7 separate regions of the Homo sapiens genome follow, and all the other regions are linked to region 6. Evidence: promoter capture Hi-C in 16 types of primary human blood cells and fetal thymus (Javierre and others, 2016). All regions are on one chromosome and are shown on one strand. Each heading gives the region's core, a stretch centred on a gene start or on the middle of the fragment in contact. The rest is flanking DNA. Distances are from core to core; before and after follow the strand shown. Region 1 overlaps GPR75-ASB3 (GPR75-ASB3 readthrough). Region 2 has its middle 540 kb from the start of VRK2. Region 3 overlaps ASB3 (ankyrin repeat and SOCS box containing 3). Region 4 overlaps ASB3 (ankyrin repeat and SOCS box containing 3). Region 5 has its middle 560 kb from the start of VRK2. Region 6 holds the start of PNPT1 (polyribonucleotide nucleotidyltransferase 1). Region 7 has its middle 520 kb from the start of VRK2.

Evidence for each region. Contacts are between HindIII fragments. The CHiCAGO score rates a contact against its expected background, and 5 or more counts as called.
Region 1: a fragment that was not itself captured here is called in contact with the fragment with the promoter of PNPT1 in region 6 in 1 of 17 cell types (naive CD8 T cells); the score reaches 5.4 in naive CD8 T cells.
Region 2: a fragment that was not itself captured here is called in contact with the fragment with the promoter of PNPT1 in region 6 in 4 of 17 cell types (M2 macrophages, M0 macrophages, total B cells and 1 more); the score reaches 11.4 in M2 macrophages.
Region 3: a fragment that was not itself captured here is called in contact with the fragment with the promoter of PNPT1 in region 6 in 10 of 17 cell types (activated CD4 T cells, naive CD4 T cells, total CD8 T cells and 7 more); the score reaches 17.8 in activated CD4 T cells.
Region 4: a fragment that was not itself captured here is called in contact with the fragment with the promoter of PNPT1 in region 6 in 1 of 17 cell types (non-activated CD4 T cells); the score reaches 7.4 in non-activated CD4 T cells.
Region 5: a fragment that was not itself captured here is called in contact with the fragment with the promoter of PNPT1 in region 6 in 2 of 17 cell types (M2 macrophages and M0 macrophages); the score reaches 8.4 in M2 macrophages.
Region 7: a fragment that was not itself captured here is called in contact with the fragment with the promoter of PNPT1 in region 6 in 2 of 17 cell types (M1 macrophages and M2 macrophages); the score reaches 6.9 in M1 macrophages.

What each region holds. Positions count from the first base shown.
Region 1 is chr2:53,794,109-53,796,808 of GRCh38, reverse strand. The region is part of intron 1 of GPR75-ASB3 (GPR75-ASB3 readthrough); the gene reads left to right. It overlaps ERLEC1 (endoplasmic reticulum lectin 1), which reads right to left. Exons shown (of 14, transcript NM_015701.5): 2 at 2,360-2,464; 3 at 796-876. Among named protein-coding and RNA genes, the nearest start is that of ERLEC1, 8.4 kb to the right of the region's middle. The HindIII fragment of the contact is 4,078 bases long and covers 1-2,700 here.
Region 2 is chr2:57,504,998-57,507,697 of GRCh38, reverse strand. No RefSeq gene overlaps it. Among named protein-coding and RNA genes, the nearest start is that of VRK2, 540 kb to the left of the region's middle. The HindIII fragment of the contact is 1,710 bases long and covers 503-2,212 here.
Region 3 is chr2:53,761,989-53,764,688 of GRCh38, reverse strand. The region is part of intron 2 of ASB3 (ankyrin repeat and SOCS box containing 3); the gene reads left to right. All of the region lies in intron 2 of GPR75-ASB3 (GPR75-ASB3 readthrough), which reads left to right. Among named protein-coding and RNA genes, the nearest start is that of CHAC2, 4.5 kb to the left of the region's middle. The HindIII fragment of the contact is 1,118 bases long and covers 877-1,994 here.
Region 4 is chr2:53,778,042-53,780,741 of GRCh38, reverse strand. All of the region lies in intron 1 of ASB3 (ankyrin repeat and SOCS box containing 3), which reads left to right. All of the region lies in intron 1 of GPR75-ASB3 (GPR75-ASB3 readthrough), which reads left to right. Among named protein-coding and RNA genes, the nearest start is that of ASB3, 7.6 kb to the left of the region's middle. The HindIII fragment of the contact is 3,119 bases long and covers 1-2,700 here.
Region 5 is chr2:57,484,019-57,486,718 of GRCh38, reverse strand. No RefSeq gene overlaps it. Among named protein-coding and RNA genes, the nearest start is that of VRK2, 560 kb to the left of the region's middle. The HindIII fragment of the contact is 872 bases long and covers 935-1,806 here.
Region 6 is chr2:55,692,446-55,695,145 of GRCh38, reverse strand. PNPT1 (polyribonucleotide nucleotidyltransferase 1) reads left to right here and starts at 1,302. Exons shown (of 28, transcript NM_033109.5): 1 at 1,302-1,483. The coding sequence starts at 1,323. RefSeq lists enhancers at 1,113-1,262, 1,293-1,352, 1,363-1,482 and a silencer at 2,053-2,112. The HindIII fragment of the contact is 6,564 bases long and covers 1-2,700 here.
Region 7 is chr2:57,522,942-57,525,641 of GRCh38, reverse strand. No RefSeq gene overlaps it. Among named protein-coding and RNA genes, the nearest start is that of VRK2, 520 kb to the left of the region's middle. The HindIII fragment of the contact is 1,205 bases long and covers 806-2,010 here.

The sequences.
Region 1 (2,700 bases), core at 191-2,690, 1.9 Mb after region 6:
TATCTGCTGCATACACTAGACAGGAATTTAAATGAATAAGATATTATTAAGAAATAACTAGCTGGGCACAGTCGCTCACGCCTGTAATTCTAGCACTTTAAAAGGCTGAGGCGGGTGGATGGCTTGAGTTCAGGAGTCTGAGACTAGTCTGGGCAACACTGTGAAAAACCTCATTTTTATAAAAAATACAAAAATTAGCAGGGCATGGTGGTGCTCAGCTACTGGGGAGTCTGAGGTGGGAGAACAGCTTGAGCATGGGACGTTGGGGCTGCAGTGAATCGTGATCATGCCACTATACTCTAGCCTGGGTGACAGAATGAGACCTTTTCTCAAAAAGAAAAAAGCAAAGAAAGAAAAAAAAAGAAATAATTTATATTTATACCTAACTTAACATCTGATACAATAGGAACAGAGAACCAAATACTGTATGTTCTCATTTATATAAATGGGAGCTAAAAAATGAGAACACATGGACACAAAGAGGGGAATAACAGACTTAGGGCCTTCTTGAAGGTAAAGAATGGGAGGAGGGAGAGGATTAAAAGAAAAAAAAAAAAAAAAACCAACCCATCAGGTACTATATTCATTATCTAGGTGACTAAATAATCTGTACACCAAACCCCGGTGACATGCAGTTTACCTATATAACAATCCTGCACAGGTAACCCTAAACCTAAAATAATAGTTAAAAAAAAAAACCTGACACAACATAATAAAGAAGAAACGGTATTTTCAAAGGTCTGTTGGCTGTTGGTAATCTATTTTCTAGTCATCAAGTAAACATAAAATACATACTCTGTAGGAACAACTGCTTTGTTTAAATAGTGGCTCCAAAAGCTCTCTTGGATTAGGGCCTTTATAATCCTTTTCTTCTTCCTAAGAAAGAATTGGAGTTTAATACTTACAGTTTTTCTAGAATTTCACCCAACTTTGCTGTTTGGATATTAACTCATTACTCAAATCACAAATGCTTAGAAATAAAAGAGAAAAAAAAGTCAAAATGTTTAACAAGACCCTACGGTACGCCATTGCTTTCAAATAACTGAAGTATAAAATATGGAGCCGTAAAATAATCTTCACAGAGTTCATGCTTTCTTAAAAAAAGGTTTTTTTAAAATGTATTTTTGCTTTTCACAAGGCAAGAATGGAGGGAAAAAAGGTTTTTAAGTATCAGTTTCCTGAACAATTCTTATAAACCTATTTCAGAATTTTTAAATGCTTGTACCCAAACAAATTCTTAGCTATGAAAGCCCTTAGAATAGTTGAATCTTATAGGATATATTGGAAAGTTTTAAGGCACTTTTCAGTTTTTTATGTATTTTTACATTTCAGATTTGAATGCCGTGTGCGTGTGTGTGTGTGTCTCAAGGAGACTTAAAACAGTGGTCTTTGATTTCAAATCTGAACAAAACCCAATAAAGCACTGAGTTTAATATTTCTATTTTCCAGATCATGAAAATATTACTGAATTGGCTTAATAAATTTATTGAGTGGAGGAAGTCAGTTTCAAATTTGTTCAAGGTTCCACAGCTAGCTATAGCCTATACCTCAGCCTCCTGGCTCCTAGGCCGGTGTCCTTCCCATTTTACCATGCTGCCTCTCCTGTTTCATCTTGAAAGAAGTCATTGCCTTGAAGGATGGATAAGAGGCAATTAGGGCATTTTAGGAGGAAGAAAAGGGCATGGGCTAAGATAATGAGAAAGCATGGGGTACCTACAGACTTATTTATAAACAATCATTTATTTAAAAAGTCACATATACATTTAAAAATTGTTATCTTGTTTTAAAACCCTAATTTCTATAAAGAAAGCAAGTGTGGAGTTAGATTTTCATTCAAAACGTTAATAATTGGTTGCGGCCGGGCATGGTGTCTCATGCCTGTAATCCCAGCACTTTGGGAGGCCGAGGTGGGCAGATCATGAGGTCAAGAAATCGAGACCATCCTGGCCAACATGGTAAAACCCCGTCTCTACTAAAAATACAAAAATTAGCTGGGTGTGGTGGTGTGTGCCTGTAATCCCAGCTACTTGGGAGGCTGAGACAGGAGAATTTCTTGAACCCGGGAGTCGGAGGTTGCAGTGAGCCAAGATCGTGCCACTGCCCTCCAGCCTGGCGATAGAGTGAGACTTCGTCTCAAAATAAATAAATAAATAAAATAAAAAAAAATTGATTGCTAATTTTTCCCAAGATAAACTGCAAAATCAAAGAATTCAGGGATATTAAAAGTGATTACTATTTTTATGCTAAAAGAGCGTTATTGAGAAATCTGTTATTCAATTTTACTTCAAAGTATGTAGTTACAATGTTTTACATAAATATTTTTGGTGACAGGATTATCAATATATTTATAAAAACTTACCTCATCCCCACTTGTCACAAGGGGAAGTATGCATTTATATTTTTCTTTATGTGCAGTTGTCATGATGACATAATTATCTTCTTTATATAAAACTCCAGTTGTGGGCTGCAAATAGAAGAAAAAACATACATTATGTTCTCCGTGAAATTGTATCACACTGAATAACTTTAGTCTTAGCTGGAAAAAAGATTCTTTAAACTAATTTAACATTTCAACAGATGATTATTTTAAAGGGAGGGAAAATATGCTACAAACATTAACAAAAATTTTAGATTCGGGGGGTACATGTGCAGGTTTGTTACATGGATATATTGCATGATGATGAAGTCTGAGCTTCTAAT
Region 2 (2,700 bases), core at 108-2,607, 1.8 Mb before region 6:
TTGAAATACAGTTGGTAAGAATCATAAATACAAATTTGGGTGACACAGAACCAGATCTGCCATGAGGAAAATATTGTCTCTACTTAAATGTAAATGAACACATCCATTCTCAAAAATGTTTATTCTAAATAAGAATGCATTGATTAAAAAAAAGAAACAATATGGACTTTTGCTTCTAAGTTGAAGGAGATACGTTTGCTTCTACTTCTTCTACTAGGTACAACTAAAAACCCTGCACATTACATAAAAATGTTGAGCAAGTGACATCTGTTTCCTACCACAAGAAGCAGTAGACTCACAATGTCAATTCAGGAATTGGAACAGTTTGCAGGTATTGGAGTCTTCAACTGCTCTGAACCGAATGGTTTTGTTCTCCCCAAATTCATATGTTGAAGCCCTAATCCCAAAGGTAATGGTATTTGGAAGTGGGGCCTTTACCTATGAGGGTGGGGCCTCCAAGATGAGACTAGTACTCCTGTAAGTAGATGAAGGGACCAAAGCTTCCTCTTCTCCAATACACTCCTCACCCCAGCATATGAAGATACAGTGAGAAGGCAACCTTCTGTGAACCAAGAACCTGACCATGCTGGCACCCTGATCTTGGACTTCGAGCTTCCAGAACGATGAGAAATAAATATCCGTTTTTAAGCCATACAATATTTTGTTACAGCAGTCCAAACCAAGATAAAAAGAAAGACGTAACTCCTATAGGCACTAGATGGAACAGTATTTTATCCACATAGAGAAGAGACAGAGCAAGATCAGTTTAAATAGCAGGTGTCAGTAACCCACGGCCCGCAGGTCTCATCTCGCAGCAAGGGCAGGGTGATGGTCTTCACAAACCCTCTTGTGCTACAGAGATGTCTGCTCTCACCACTCTTATTCAATACAGTATTGAATGGTCTAGCCAGTGTAGTAGGCAAGAAAATTGAATAAAAGACATAAAGATCAGAAATAAAGACATAAAACTATCCCTATTAGTAGATTACATTACGCCTACATAGAAAATCCCAAGAAATTGACAATAAAAATGCCTAAAACTAATAAATGACTTCCATAAGTTTGCTGAGTACTAAGTCAACAACAAAAAATAATTTTATTTCTATATACTAGCAATAAATACGTGAACATTAAAATTATAATTGTTTGTAATATTAAATAGGTATATTTTTAACAAAAATTATGCCATACTTACATGCTGATAACTACAAAATGCTGTAAAATAAATCAAAGATGACCTAAATAAACTAAGAGACATACCGTGTTACCGTGTTCATGGATTAGAAGAGTTAGTATAGCAGCAATTCCAATTCCTCCCAAATGGATTTTTCATGGCTTGTAGGGAGGGGTAGGCATAGAACAAAGGAACAGAATAGAGAACTCAGAAATTGATTACAAAATTCTGCCCAACTTATTTCTTTAAAATGTGCAAAAGCAATTGAATAGAGGAAAGATAGTATTCTCAACAAATAGTGCTAGAGCAATTTAACACCCATTACAATAAACTTTAACTCAAATTGGATCATCTACTTAAATATAAAACATAAAACTATAAAACACTTAGACAAAAATAGGATAATATCTGGGGGATGTAGACTTAGCAAACAGTTCTTAAACTTGAAAACAAAAGCATGTTTCATAAGAGAAAAACATGATTAACTGAACTCTATTAAAAAAAAAAAATGGCCGGGCGCAGTGGCTCATGCCTATAATCCCAGCACTTTGGGAAGCCAAGGCAGGCAGATCACTTGAGGTCAGGAGTTTGAGACCAGCCTGGTAACATGGTGAAACCTCGCCTCTACTAAAAATACAAAAACTAGCCGGGCGTGGTAGCATTTGTCTGGAATCCCAGCTACTCGGGAGGCTGAGGCGGTAGAATTGCTTGAACCCGGGAAGCAGAGGTTGCAGAGAGCAGAGATCTCACCACTGCACTCCAGCCTGGGCAACACAGTGAGACCCTGTCTCAAAAAATAATAATAATAAATTTTAAAAAAACAACTTTTGCTCCATGAAGAACCTCATTAAGAAGATAAATAGACAAGCTACAGGGTGAAAGAAAATATTTACAAACCCTATATGCAACAAATTACTAAGATGTAGACTATATAAAGGATTCATAAAACTTAATAGTAAGCAAAAATCCAATTATGGAATGAACAAAAAACACAAAGAAGTAACTTCTCAAAAAGAATATATAGATGACAAATAAGCTTATAAAAACATGTTTAACATCGTTAGCCATTAGGAAAACGCAAATTAAAATCACAATGAGATATTACTATATATTTCTCGGAATGGCCTAAAAAAAGTAAAATATCAAATGCTGGCAAAGATATGGACAAACTAGATCACACGTACATTGATAATGGGAATGTAAAATTATACAGGCATTCTGGAAAATACTTTGATAGTTTATTTAAAAAAGTAAGTGTACAACTACTTTATGCCCCATTATTTGTACCTTTAGAAATTTATCTCACATAAATGAAAATATGTTAATACGAAAACATGTGCATGAATATTTATAGCAACTTTATTCACAATATCTCCAAAAAAGACACAACTCTGATGTTCTTCAATGGTTGAATGTTTAAATAAACTATGACATATGTCTAGCATGGAATACTGCTCAGCAAGAAAAAGGAATGCATTATTGTCATGCACAACAATCTGGATGGATCTTAAGAGAATTATGCTGAC
Region 3 (2,700 bases), core at 186-2,685, 1.9 Mb after region 6:
CTACAAACCAGTGCTATAAACTGGGCTTTCTTCCCTCTGGACAGCTAGTTATTAAATGTTAACCAGCACACTACTGAGTGAAGGTCATTGACTAAAGGCGAGATTCTGACATTTAGTATAGAGGGGGTAGGAAGAAAACAAATGGTGACTGAGCATTGCTTTGTGATAGTCATTGTGCCACATGCTCAATTTATCTTCTTTATCTAATATTTATAAAAATGGTGTTAGAGGCAGTATTATCCTCATTTTATTGGTGAAAAGACCAAGGCTCAGAGAAGTTGACTTGTAAAAGGTTACATAATAAACTAGGGTATTTGATTTGAACCCATTTCTCTGACTCTAAAGCCCTTTTTTTTCCTCTCATACCAAGCTTCTAACATTTAATTGAATGAATTTATAGCATTCAGTTAAAATGAGGTTGACTATAATACTCTGCATTGTAACACTCAGAACCAATTTCATTTCATTGATCGTGGAAATTCAGACCCTCTTTCCTGCATACTTGTCATCACCAGGTATAGGTCCTTAAAATATAAACTTCTGGGTCCATAGCCCATCAGAACTACTAATTTGTTACCTGCTGGACGGGAAAGGAAATAATCTTTACATTGTTTTTGGTAGTGGTAGGTGTTTTTTTTGTTGTTGTTGTTTTGTTTTTTTCTTTTTTTTGTCTTAACAGGTAAGAGATGGTAAGGCTAAACTTCCTAAATCATAATGCAGGAAATTTGTCATGATTGTTTTTAAAATCACATGTTCAAGTGTCTAGTGTCTATTATAGTTGAGTGTTTGAAGATAGTGGAAAAATAGATGTTATTCCTCTAATTTCAAACGCTTAAGATATGTTTTCAGAATCTGTTTGAAGTTAACTATAAAGCTTGAGTTCCCAAACTATTTTTAGTAACAAAGACATGAGTTTGAATATCCTTTTCTAGGCAAAAAGCTCATTTCCAATATACTGTTACATCTCTTCTTCATATCGGAATAGTGTAGTTTATGTTACAGATTTTTTTCATCTGCTGAGTAAACTTGGGCATGCTTTTGACTAAAGGCATTTGAACTGGCTGTTAAATTCATCTCTACAGTTGTCCTGCCATATCCACAGGGAATTGGTCCCAAAATGTCCACGGACACCAAAATTCATGGATGCTCCTCAAGTTCGGCAGTCTGCCCTGAAGATAGGAAAACGTCCTATACACACATACAAAAGGTCAGCCGTCTGTATCTGTGGGTTCCACATCCTACAAATGCTATTATCTTCCATCCCAGTTGGTTGAATCTGCAGGTGCAAAACCCGTGGATACAGAAGCCCGACTGTATTTCCTTTTTTTCTGAGACAGAGTCTTGCTCTGTTGCCCAGGTGGGAGTGCAGTGGTGCGACCTCAGCTCACCACCACCTCCACCTCCCAGATTCAAGCGGTTCTCCTGCCTCAGTCTCCCAAGTAGCTGGGACTACAGGTGCACACCACCAATGCCTGGCTAACTGTCTCACTTTGTTGCCGAGGCTGGTCTCAAACCCTTGGCTCAAGTGATCCTCCTGCCTTGGCTTCCCAAAGTGCTGGGATTACAGGTGTGATGCATCACACCTGCTGTCTTTTATTATATAATTTTCCTACCTCCCTGAGGTTTATCTAATATTAATACACTGTCAGAGATTCCTAAAAGATAATTAGTGCACCCAAATAAGAAGGTATGTAGGCCTACACAAATAAAATGGAAATATCTAAAATGATTAGAAGAGTTTTGCTTCACTGTCTCTTCAATTTAGATTTGGAATCCATTCTGAGTACCATACATGGTCTTCTGACTCAAGTTGGAGAAGAGCATTCAAGTGTGGTGTAGATTACATAGAAGTTTAATATGCATACATATTTTTGTATTTCTTATGTATCTCATTTTAGTTTTCTGTTTAACATATTAGCACAGATAACAAATTTGCTTGTCTTCTCTCCTGTATTGGAGGTTGGGTGTAATGGGTGTTGAGATTTTATGAAGCTTGTCATCCTGGAGGGCAGTAATGATCTTCACTGACAATTAATGCCATTCAATAATAAGTCATTTGCTGACTAAAAGTCCCTTAAAAATCTTATAATTATTAAGCATATAGCTAAAAAATACTTTTATTTGGCTAATAAATGATCTAGCTCATAGTATTTTTTATTAGTTCATGTTAAATAAGAAAATACGCACTAATACTGGGCACAGTAACAGATGCAGAAGTTCCTTAGACAAATAAATCATTGTAGCACAGCGATTAAGAGTTACGGTCAGATGGACCTGAATTCTAGTGACTCTACCATTTTATTGGTGTGACTTTGGACAGGTTTTTTAACCTCTAAGTGGTTTAGTTTTTTCATCTGTTAGATAGAAATATTCCATTGTTCCAGCTCAGGCCAGAAACTCTGGGCCATCATTAATTCCTTTCTTTTTCTCATATTTCTCATCTAGTCAGTCAGCAAATTTGTGTATGTGTATGTCTATATTTGTGTGTATGTATACACACACACACACACACACACAGTTAGATCACTTCTCACTACCATTAATACCTTGTCTGCGTTGCTATAATAGCATCTTAACAGATCTTCTCTATCTGCCATTGCTCCTTCTGCATCCTATGACAGACCACCCTCAATATATTAGAGGGATCATTTTAAAATGCAACAGACCAAGTCACTCTTCTGCTCTCTTGAGTGAAAACAC
Region 4 (2,700 bases), core at 195-2,694, 1.9 Mb after region 6:
TAGGGGCCTTATGATAGCTCACTGCAGCCTTGAACTTCTGGGCTCAAGAGATCCTTCTGCTTTATCCTCCAGAGTGGCTAGGACTGCAGACATGTGCCACTATGCCCAGCTAATTTTTACATTTTTGTAGAGACATGGTCTCACTATATTGCCCAGGCTGGTCTCAAACTACTGACTTCAAGTGATCCCCTTGCTTTGGCCTCCCAAATTGCTGAGATTACAGGCACGAGCACCATACCCACCCCTCTGCTTGTATTTTATATCACATCTTTTATATTAAATAACATAGATTTGTTTGCTTGTGTGTTTCTCCACCAAATATGATTCTTGATAGCCGGGGACTATCTTATTTATTTTGGTGGTCTCAGTGCATAGTCATTGCTTGCCACATAACATTAGTTCGCTCATTTGAGCTAGGTCTTAAAGAATGAGGAGGGTGGTGTGATTGGAGCATGAGGGGCAGGGGAGTACGTCAGTGGGAAGTGAAATTTGACAAATACACTGATACCAGATTGACCAGATGGTAAGTAGTTGAATGCCAGATTAAAGGATTTGAATTTATTTTATATGCAGCAGGAAGACATTTTGATTACTGACCTCAGTTTCATATTTTAGGTAAGTAATTCTGAGTGCACAGTAGAGCGTGTATTGGAAAGAGGAAAAGAGATTGGAAACAAGAAGAATATGTAAGAAACTCTGGCTCTTGATGTATGATAAGGCTCTTTAGTTGAGAATCTTTCAGCATGTAACCTTTTACTATCATGTAATCTTTTAAGCCTTATCACAAAAAGCCTTCAGGGCTTCCTTGGTAACTTCATTTTGACTTTGTTAAAAGAAAAACTTTAGACGAAATCAATTTATCAGAATTTGTTTTTGTGTTAAAGGATTAATGAATTTGGCAGCACCCAAAATTAGAAGTAGTTCAGGGAGCTCTTGTTTTAACAGAGTAAGCGGCAGACCTTTGCAGGCTGAATGTGGAAGCGAAGTAAAGAAATTACTTGATTGGACTGGGCATAGTGGCTCATACCTGTAATCCCATCATTTTGGGAGGCTGAGGTAGGTGGATCACTTGAGCTCAGGAGTTCAAGACCAGCCTGGGCAACATGGTGAAACTCCATCTCTACAAAAAATGCAAAAATTAGCCAGGCATGGTGGCACATGCCAGTAGTCCCAGCTACTTGGGAGGCTGAGGTGGGAGGATTGCTTGAGCCTGGGAGGTTGAGGCTGCAGTGAGTTGTGATTGTGCCACTGCACTCCAGCCTGGGCAACAGAGCGAGACCCTGTCTTGAAAAAAAAAAAATTACTTGATTGTCATAGCTACTTGTTTGTCTTATTTGGGTACAATCTGGCAGAAAGTTGCTTGTTAGAGAATAGTTGTTGGTTTCTGATTAAAATTAAGTTGTGACATCCTATGGATTGGGAGGAAATATTTGCAAGCCATACATGAGATAAGGGATTAAAATTCAGAATATAAAAGGAACTCAAATAACTCTATAGAAAGAATACAAATAATCCAGTTAAAAAATGGGCAAGGAACCTGTATAGACATTTCTCAAAAGAAGACATACAAATGGCCAACAGATACATGAAAAAATGTTCAACATTACTAATCATCAGGGAAATGCAAATTAAAACCACTATGAGATATCACCCCAATATGTGTCAGAATGGCTACTATCAAACAGATGAAAGATAAGTGTTGGCAAGGCATGTGGAGAAAGGGGAACCTCTGTACACTGTTAATGGCAATGTAAATTAGTACAACCGTTATGGAAAACAGTGGCAGTTCCTCAAAAAACTAAAAATAGAATTACCATATGATCCAGCAATCCAACTTCTGGGTATTTACCTAAAAGATTGGAAATCAGTATGTTGAAGAGATATCTGCACTCCCATGTTCATTGCAGCATTAATCACAATAGCCAAGATACGGAATCAACCTAAGGGTCCTTAGACAGATGAATGGATAAAGAAAAATCTGGTGTACATACGTAGTGGAATACTATTCAGCCTTAAAAATGAAAGAAACTTTGTCATTTGTGACGACATGGATGGATTGGAGAACATTAAGCTAAATGAGATAAGCCAAGTACAAGCAGACAAACAACATATGTGCTTACTTATATATTTAATCTAAAACCGTTGAACTAAAAGAAGCAGAGAGTAGAACAGTGGTTACCAGGGTTGGAGGGAAGGCATGGGGGAATGGGGAGATGATAGTCAAAGGGGAGGAATTTTTTTCTTTGAGATATGTTGCACAGTATGGTGAATATAGTGACTAATAATGTACTTTATACTTGCTAAGAGTAACTTTTAAAAGTTTTCACTACAAAAAAAATTTGAGGTCATGGATATGTTAACTAGATTTAATTATTCCACATTGTATTCATAAATCATCACTTTGTACCTCATAAATATATAACTATAGTCAGTTTATAATTAAAAAATAAAAAGCAAAGATTAAGTTTTGTTTCACTGTTTACATTGGGCTTCAGTTTGCTTACATAGGAACCCAGAGTCCTAGGACCATCTTAGCCAAATGGCCTCCAATTAAAGATTGCTTACACTCTTTTTTTTTTTTTTTTTTTTTTTGAGACAAGAATCCTGCTCTGTTGCGCAGGCTGGAGTGCAGTGGCGCCATCTTGGCTCACTGCAACCTCTGCCTCCTGGGTTCAAGCAATTCTCCTGGCTTAGCCTCCC
Region 5 (2,700 bases), core at 121-2,620, 1.8 Mb before region 6:
CAGGGATGTTTTCAGATTAATAATGTTATATATTTATTTCTATTTTTTTTTACCTCAAACTCCAATTTAGGGCTTAGATAACATTTTAGACAATATATTTTATGTCAGAGACCACTGGCCCATAAAAAACAATTATCCACATTGTAAAATAGAATTATTTTTTCCATAAGATAATAGAATTTTCATATATACACACCTTTTAAATTAAGTAGAGTGCATAGTTATGTATTCATTTTCAGAAAAATATGCATGTTATGCATATGCCCACAGTAACACACACACACATATGCACACACACACAAAATCTTCACTTCTATTATTGGCTTTAGAGAAGAAAATAAGTCTTAAGGAGAAGTGGAAAGAGAAATAGGCAAAGGTGAGGGATATGGAAGTGGAATAGATACACATAGCCTGAAAGGAAACAGACAGCCTAAGGCCCTGGTGTCTTTCTGAGAAATTTCAGTAATGTGGCTCATTTTGATGTTTCAGCCTTGTATCTTCCAAACTACAATGTACACTGCTCTTAGAATCATCTTTGCACAAATCTGATTATATAATTTTCTTGCCTCATTACTTGTGATGATTTCTTATATTCTCTTGAATGAAGTAAAAGTTTCTTAGTTTGACGTTTTTCTCACAACCTACTTTTCTCTTTTTATTGGCCTTAAACATCACTACACACATTCTACCCTGCAGCTACTTTGAACCACTTTCCATTTCTTTCAAGTGTGCTACTTCTTCTGTGTGTGTTCTTTTTCTTCTCTTTTTCTTGCACACAGTTATGCGTGAGCATAATGAGTAAAATGGTTCTATGTCATTTCTTGGAGGGAAGCAAAGTTCTCTGCCTTTTCCCCTGCTCCCATTCCAAAGACAACTAATTTCACCTCTATTGAGTAATTATTTTGGCATTGATCTAAATTTCTAAATAAAAGCTTACATTGCAGCATTTTTATTTTTCAGCCTGAATTATTAATAGCTGACCTCCTTTTTAATGTAAGAATTTGGATATTTTTAGTTCTCCAATTGCTATTTCCACCATGCATGAATGGTACTTCTATCCCCCAACATTGTGATATTGTTATATGGAATTTTTATAAGACTGCTGTTCAGTATTTGCATTATTATGTTGTAAACACTGCTTACAACTGATCCGGTCAATAAACTATAATTACTTTTCCCTCCTAGAAACCTTTTTATTTTACTGGGAACTAATAATTTTCATATCTTTACGTACTCATCAGTAACCAACTTTTTAAAAATTTCCTGAATCTCCTCTAAAGACATTTAGTTATTTCACATATTCTGTCCATTTCATCTTCCTGAAGCAGTACTCCTTCTAGTCAGATTTGACTGCCCTCTGTTCTTGGAGCACAGCTGTTGTGTGAGCCCCTCCTTTCACATATATTCAAGGATTCCCTTCACTGCTATCCACGTTTGATTTCCTGTTTCTTGTTATCTCATATCTCTCTTTTTCTTAGTTTATATCCTCATCTTGATGGAGCACATCCTTCAGTATTTCCTCGGAATGCATGCATGGGAGGTCACTTCTTTGAAAACCTGTGTGTTTGAAATTATTTTTATCTCATCCCGACTCTTACTGAAAGTTTGGAAAGGTATAGAATTCTATGTTGAAAATCATTTTTTTTTGAGATTTTCAAAGACATTTGTGCCGCTGAAAATGACTAGAGTAACACAAACAATGCAACTGAGTAGTCTTACTTTAAATTCATGGCCAAAAACTTCAGATGAGCAGAGGATCACACTCTATTTCTGTAGTCTATTTATTTTCCCACTCTCCTAGAAGCTTATTTCACGTTCTTCCTTTCTCTTCAAATATCAATTTTCCCTGTCTTCTTACTTTCAGCTGATAGTCTTAATGACAATTTCACTGAGACAACTAAAACATTCAGCAGAGATCCCCAGATTCATACAACTACATCTATCCATCTACTAGCATCTGATCCAACAACTGGGCCTTCCTTCCTGGTCCCACAGATGTACTGATAAACCATCCATGCTCTGCTCTAAAACCTATTCCTTCACTTGAGCACCAGAAATTACTTTCGCATTTCTACAGCTCACTAATTTTCTGTTGTCAATCAGACCTTCTGCCTTCCATGGATATGGGTCTGTGTACCAATTCCCTCTGCCCCATTTATCCATGGAAAACAATTCCATTTATAATAGGTACACAAAATAAAATACTTAGGAATAAATTTAACCAAGGAGATGAAAAATACAGGTCTTAGAAATTACAGAACTTTGAGAAAAGAAATTACAGAATATACAAGGAAATGAAAAAATACTCTGTGTTCATGGGTTGGAATAATTCATATTGTTAAAATGTCTGTACTTCCCAACTTGATCTACAGATTCAATACAATCTGCATCAAAATTCCAATGCCATTTTTTTTTTACAGAAATAGGAAAAACAATCCCAAAAGTCATAATGGAACCACACAAATGTACACACACACACACAAAAAAAACCGTAAACAGCCAAGGCAATTCTGAGCAAAAAGAACAAAACTGGAAGCATCAAACTACAAACTACCTGACTTTAAATTATAAATACTTCCCAACTTGGATATTTTGACTTATGATTTTTACAGTTTACACTGGGTTTATTGGGACATAACCCTATTGTAAGTCGGGGATCATCTGTATATTACAAACCTACAATAATTAAAATAGCATAAT
Region 6 (2,700 bases), core at 53-2,552:
TAATTTTTGTATTTTTAGTAGAGACGCGGTTTCAGCATGTTGGCCAGGATGCCCTGGGTCTCTTGACCTCGTGATCCACCCGCCTCTGCCTCCCAGCGTGCTGGGATTACAGGCATGAGCCACTGCGCCCGGACTTTTTTTTTTTTTTTTTTTTTTTTTTTTTTTGAGACCGAGTTTCACTCTTGTTGCAATGACGCGATCTCGGCTCACTGCAACCTCCGCCTCCCGGGTTCAAGCGATTCCCCTGCCTCAGCCTCCCGAGTAGCTGGGATTACAGGCATAAGCCACCATGCCCGGCTAGTTTTGTATTTTTAGTAGAGACGGGGTTTCTCTGTGTTGGTCAGGCTGGTCTCGAACTCAGGTGATCCGCCCGCCTCGGCCTCCCAAAGTGCTGGGATTACAGGCGTGAGCCACAGCGTCCAGCCAACGTTTTTAATTCTTAAAACTGTGTTTGAATGAGTGTTGGGTTTTTGTTGTTTGGTTTTCTTTGGGGTAAGGCGGTTATCACCTTACACAAAAAATTTACATCATAATATGAAAATGCCCATTGGTTCATTCAAGGAAAAACATAAAGAATTTCTAACAGAATGGATTAATGGGGTGGAAGAAATTTATCCATTCTCTAAAAATTTTTCAAATCCCAAAAACTTTTTTTTTTCATTTTACAAAATATTTACTTCAAACAGTAGCTGGCATTTTGCATTTAAGAGTTCGACCAAAAGGGACAGAAATATAAATTGCTAATTATTAGCAATGGAAATGAAAATGAATCAGAAGTGACAATAAAGATTTCTAAAATTACAAGTCGATGAAAAATGAATTTACTGTAAATTGGTTAACACAAATCGCTGTAGTAACATATCTGCTATGTGAAATTTTTAAAATAAAAACCAGGGCGGAGAAGGGGAGAAGGAGATCTCTTTCCAAGGCCCACCACCCAAATTCTAATTCTTAGTTCACAGATCCAAATAATAATAATGTGTTGTTCTATGACTTCTAGTATTAAAAGTAAATATAAATTTACTCTGCATATTAAACATTTACATTATTCTAGGACTTCTCCTTTAAATTACGATAGTACACACACAAAAACCTTATTTATCTAATTGCCTTTCGTTGGCACATAAAGACAAAGATCGTTTGCAACATAATCGCGTTCTGATAGGTTTGACCCTCTCTAGTCTTCGTAGAAGGTGGCCAAGGTTTCCGTTACCCCGGCGTCCCTCGGGCACCGCGGAAACGAAACTCCATCAGGCTCCGCCCCACGGTCTGCGGAGTGAGCCAATCAGGGCACAGCCTGCGTTGACCGCGTGCCGGGTGTCATGGCGGCCTGCAGGTACTGCTGCTCGTGCCTCCGGCTCCGGCCCCTGAGCGATGGTCCTTTCCTTCTGCCACGGCGGGATCGGGCACTCACCCAGTTGCAAGTGCGAGCACTATGGAGTAGCGCAGGGTCTCGAGCTGTGGCCGTGGACTTAGGCAACAGGTAAGGAGTGACGTGCGTTCACTGTATTGTCATAAGGTGTCTTGTCCAGCCAGCTTGAGCGTATTCATCTCCCAGGGTAGAAACCCGGTATCCCAGCTCTATTTAATCTCTCCTTACCCTAAACCTAAATTCCAAATTTCCCTTTCCGGGTTTGGAATGTGTCTCCTCGGACCCTCCTTCCCGCGCTATGTCGTTCTCTCTGTTGGTGTGTGCCGGGCTTCTTTGCTCCATCCGACTCTGTCCGTCCACCTGACTTCCGATCTCTTTACTTTCCGGGACCACTGGGCTCTTAAGTGGGAAACATTCCACCTAGGAATAACGAGTTGACGTGGGTGAGACGAGGCCCCCCGGGATGCTGGCCCGGACCCTGGAAGCTGGGGCTCTGATGCCCCTCGAGCTGGGACACAGACCTCAGCAGAGGCTCCGGGTGGCTAGTGCACCACGGGTCCCCCACGTCCCACTCCTCGGGCTCCTTCAGCCTCCTCTTCACCAGGAGCCTACCTTGTAGAAGTTGAACACCAGGTCCAGTTCACAGACATTGTGGAAATATTCGTTTAAGACCTGGGAGAGGAAGGCAGAGATGGTAAGAGATGGACAGGGAGAGAGCCACACACGCACAGAGATGGGAACAAGGTCATCAGAAAGAGACAGCAAAAAAAAGAGACCAAGAGGGAGGCAGGGGAGAGAGAGAGACAGTGACAGGGAGAGAGGCAAGGAGACACACAGAGAGAAACAAAAGCAAAGATCGATGCAAAGAGATGGCAAAAGGTCAGGCGCTCACACCTGTAATCCCAGCACTTTGGGAGGCTAAGACGGAAGGATGACTTGAAGTTAGGAGTACAAGATATCATGTCATCCAATCTAATTGATTGCCTAAAGTGTGACCACTATGACCCTGGGTTAGGAGGAAAAGGAAAAGTCAGTTTTTTGAACGCCAGTTATATGATCCTCGCAATCTTTTTAAACCTGTCGTAAAGGTACTATTACCCTCATTTTATAGTTAAGACTACAGAGGCTCAAAAAAGGTTAGATAACTTTCTAAGAGTCTATAAAAAAGTTAGTATTATGGGACTAGGTGGTTTTTGAATTTCTGTTTTTTGCTTACAAAGCCCATACTTTTTTTTAGGGGACCGCTTTTTAAAAAAAAAGTTTGCTTTAATCGTTCTTAGAATAAATGGAATTGCTAATGCAAACTTCATATATCTAAATTTTTTACG
Region 7 (2,700 bases), core at 159-2,658, 1.8 Mb before region 6:
CAATGAGATACCATTTTACACCAGTCAGAATGGGCATTATTTAAAAGTCTAAACACAGCAGATATTGGTCAGGATGCAGAGAAAATGGAATTATACACTGTTGGTGAGAACGTAAATCAGTACAACCTCTATGGAAAACAGTATGGTGATTTTTCAACAAACTTAAAAATAAATACCAGATAATCCAGCAATCCCACTTCTAGGTGTCTATTAAAAAGAAAATAAATCATTATATCAAAAAGGCACTTATGCTCGTATGTTTACTACAGTACTCTTCACAATAGTGAAGATATAGGATCAACCTAAGTGTCCATCAATGGAGGACTGGATTTAAAAAATGTGATATCAATACACTATGGAATACTACTTAGCCATAAAAATAATGAAATCATGTCTTTTCAACAACTTGGATGGAACTGGAGGCCATTATCCTAAGTAACATAGCTCAGAAACAGAAAGCTAAATACTGCATGCTGTCACCTACATGTGGGGGCCAAAACAAGAGGTACACATTGACATACAGAGTGGAATGATGTACATTGGAGACTACAAAAGGTGGGATAGTGTAGGGGGCGAGGGTTGGAAAAGTACCTACTGGGTGCAATATACACTATTTGGATAATGGGTACACTAGAAGCCCAGACTTCACCACTATGCAATATATGCATATAAGAAATCTACACTTGTATCCCTTAAATATATTTAAATAAACAAATAAGTCAGAAAGTAACAAGTGACAAGAAAAAAAAGATAGGTGTGATAATTATGCAGCAGCCAAATGAAACAGCTGCCAATGTCCAAAGCTTGAACAATTTGAGAAATAAACAATGCTGTATTGGAATATCATACAGAGTATAAAATATATTTATGTTTTGTTGGAGTAGGAGAACAAATATACAAACTATTTTATTCTGCCCCTGGCCCTCACCAAATGTCAAATTCTTCTCACAATGCAAAATACATTCATGCTGTTGCAGGACTTTTCCTTAGTTCAGCTAAAGACAGGGTCCTTGTCAGTCCTGTGACCATGAAAATTTAGGCTCACATGGTTTGAATGGTGAGTAAGACACAGTTTATTGGATAGAAAGGAAGAAAAGGGTGAAACAGGGACTCTTACAAGGCCACAGTCCCTGCTACAGCACTTCCCGTCCTGCCATTTGAATCCCAGGTTCCACGCAGGAAGCGGAGGGGCCAGATTCCTCCCTGCTGAAAACTGTGCAAACTTCCCGAGGCTCTACCCCAGTGGGCAGGCTGGTTGAAATTTCTCCAGGAACCCCCTCCCATGTGGCTGTCTCAGTGCTTTCCCAATAGTCTCCCAAAGTCTTAACTCATTCCAGCATTAACTGAAAAGTCCCAAGTCCCAAGCCCAAAGTCTCATCTGGAGATGAATTCCTTCCACCTATGAGCCTGTGAAATCAAAATAAGTTATTTACTTCCAAGATACAACGTGGGTACAGATATTGGGTGAACATTCCCATTCCAAAAGGGAGAAATCAGCCAAAAGAAGGGCTACAGGCTCCACACAAGTTTGAAATTCTGCGGGGCAGTAATTAAGTCTTGAAGTTCCAAAATAATCTCCTTTAACCTACAGGACACACTCGTGCAAAGGTGGGCTTCCAAGGCTTTGGGGAACTCCATCCCTGTGGCTTTGCAGGGTTCAGCCCCTGTGTCTTCTCGCATGGTTTGGAGTTGAATGCCTGCAGCTTTTCCAGGTGCGGTATGAAAGATTCCAGTTGAATCTACGATTCTGGGGTCTGGAGGATGTTGGCCCTCCTCCTACAGTTCCACTAGGTAGTGCCCTAGTGGGGATTCTTTGTAGGGCCTCCAACCCTACACTTCTTCTTTATACTGCCCTAATAGAGGTTGTCTGTATGGGTCCCATCCCTGCAGCAGTCTTCTGCCTTGGCACCCAGGATTTCTCATACATCCTCTGAAATCTAGGCAAAGGGTGCTGAGCCTTCTTCACTTTTACACTCTATGTGCCTACAGGCTTTACACTCCATAAAAGCTTCCAAGATTTATGGCTTGCATCCTCCAGAATGGTGGCCCAAGCTGTTCCTTGGGCCCTTTGAGCTGAGGCTGGAGCCCACGTGGACACAATTTGAGAGGCAGCCTCCTGGAATGGTACAGGGCAGTGTTTCCCTGGGCCTGGGCCAGGAAACCATTCAGTCCTTCTAAAAGGCCTCAGGGCCTGTGATGCAAGAAGCTGGCTCAGAGACCTCTGAAATGCTTTCAAGCCCTTTTTCCTATTTTCTTTGCACTTGGTTCTTTTTTAATTATGCAAATCTCACTAGCAAGTGGTTTCTCCACAGCCTGCTTGAATCCTTCTCCAGAAAATGGGATTTTCTTTCCTACCACATAGCCAGGCTACAAATTTTTCAAACTTTTACCCTCTGCTTTTCTCTTTAAATATAACTTCCAAATTTAAGTAATTTCTTTGTCCCCACATCTGAGTGTAAGTTGTTAGAAGCAGCCAGGCCATGTCGTGAATGCTTTGGTGCTTAGAAATTTCTTCCACCAGATAACCTACACAAGTTCAAATTTCCAGATTCCTAAGGCATAAACATATCATACCCAAGTTCTTTGCTAAGGCATAAGAAGAGTGACCTTTGCTCCAGTCTCAAATAAGTTCTACATTTCTAACTGAGGCCTCATCAGCCTGAACTTCACTATTCATCTTGATAGACAAGCATCTGATCA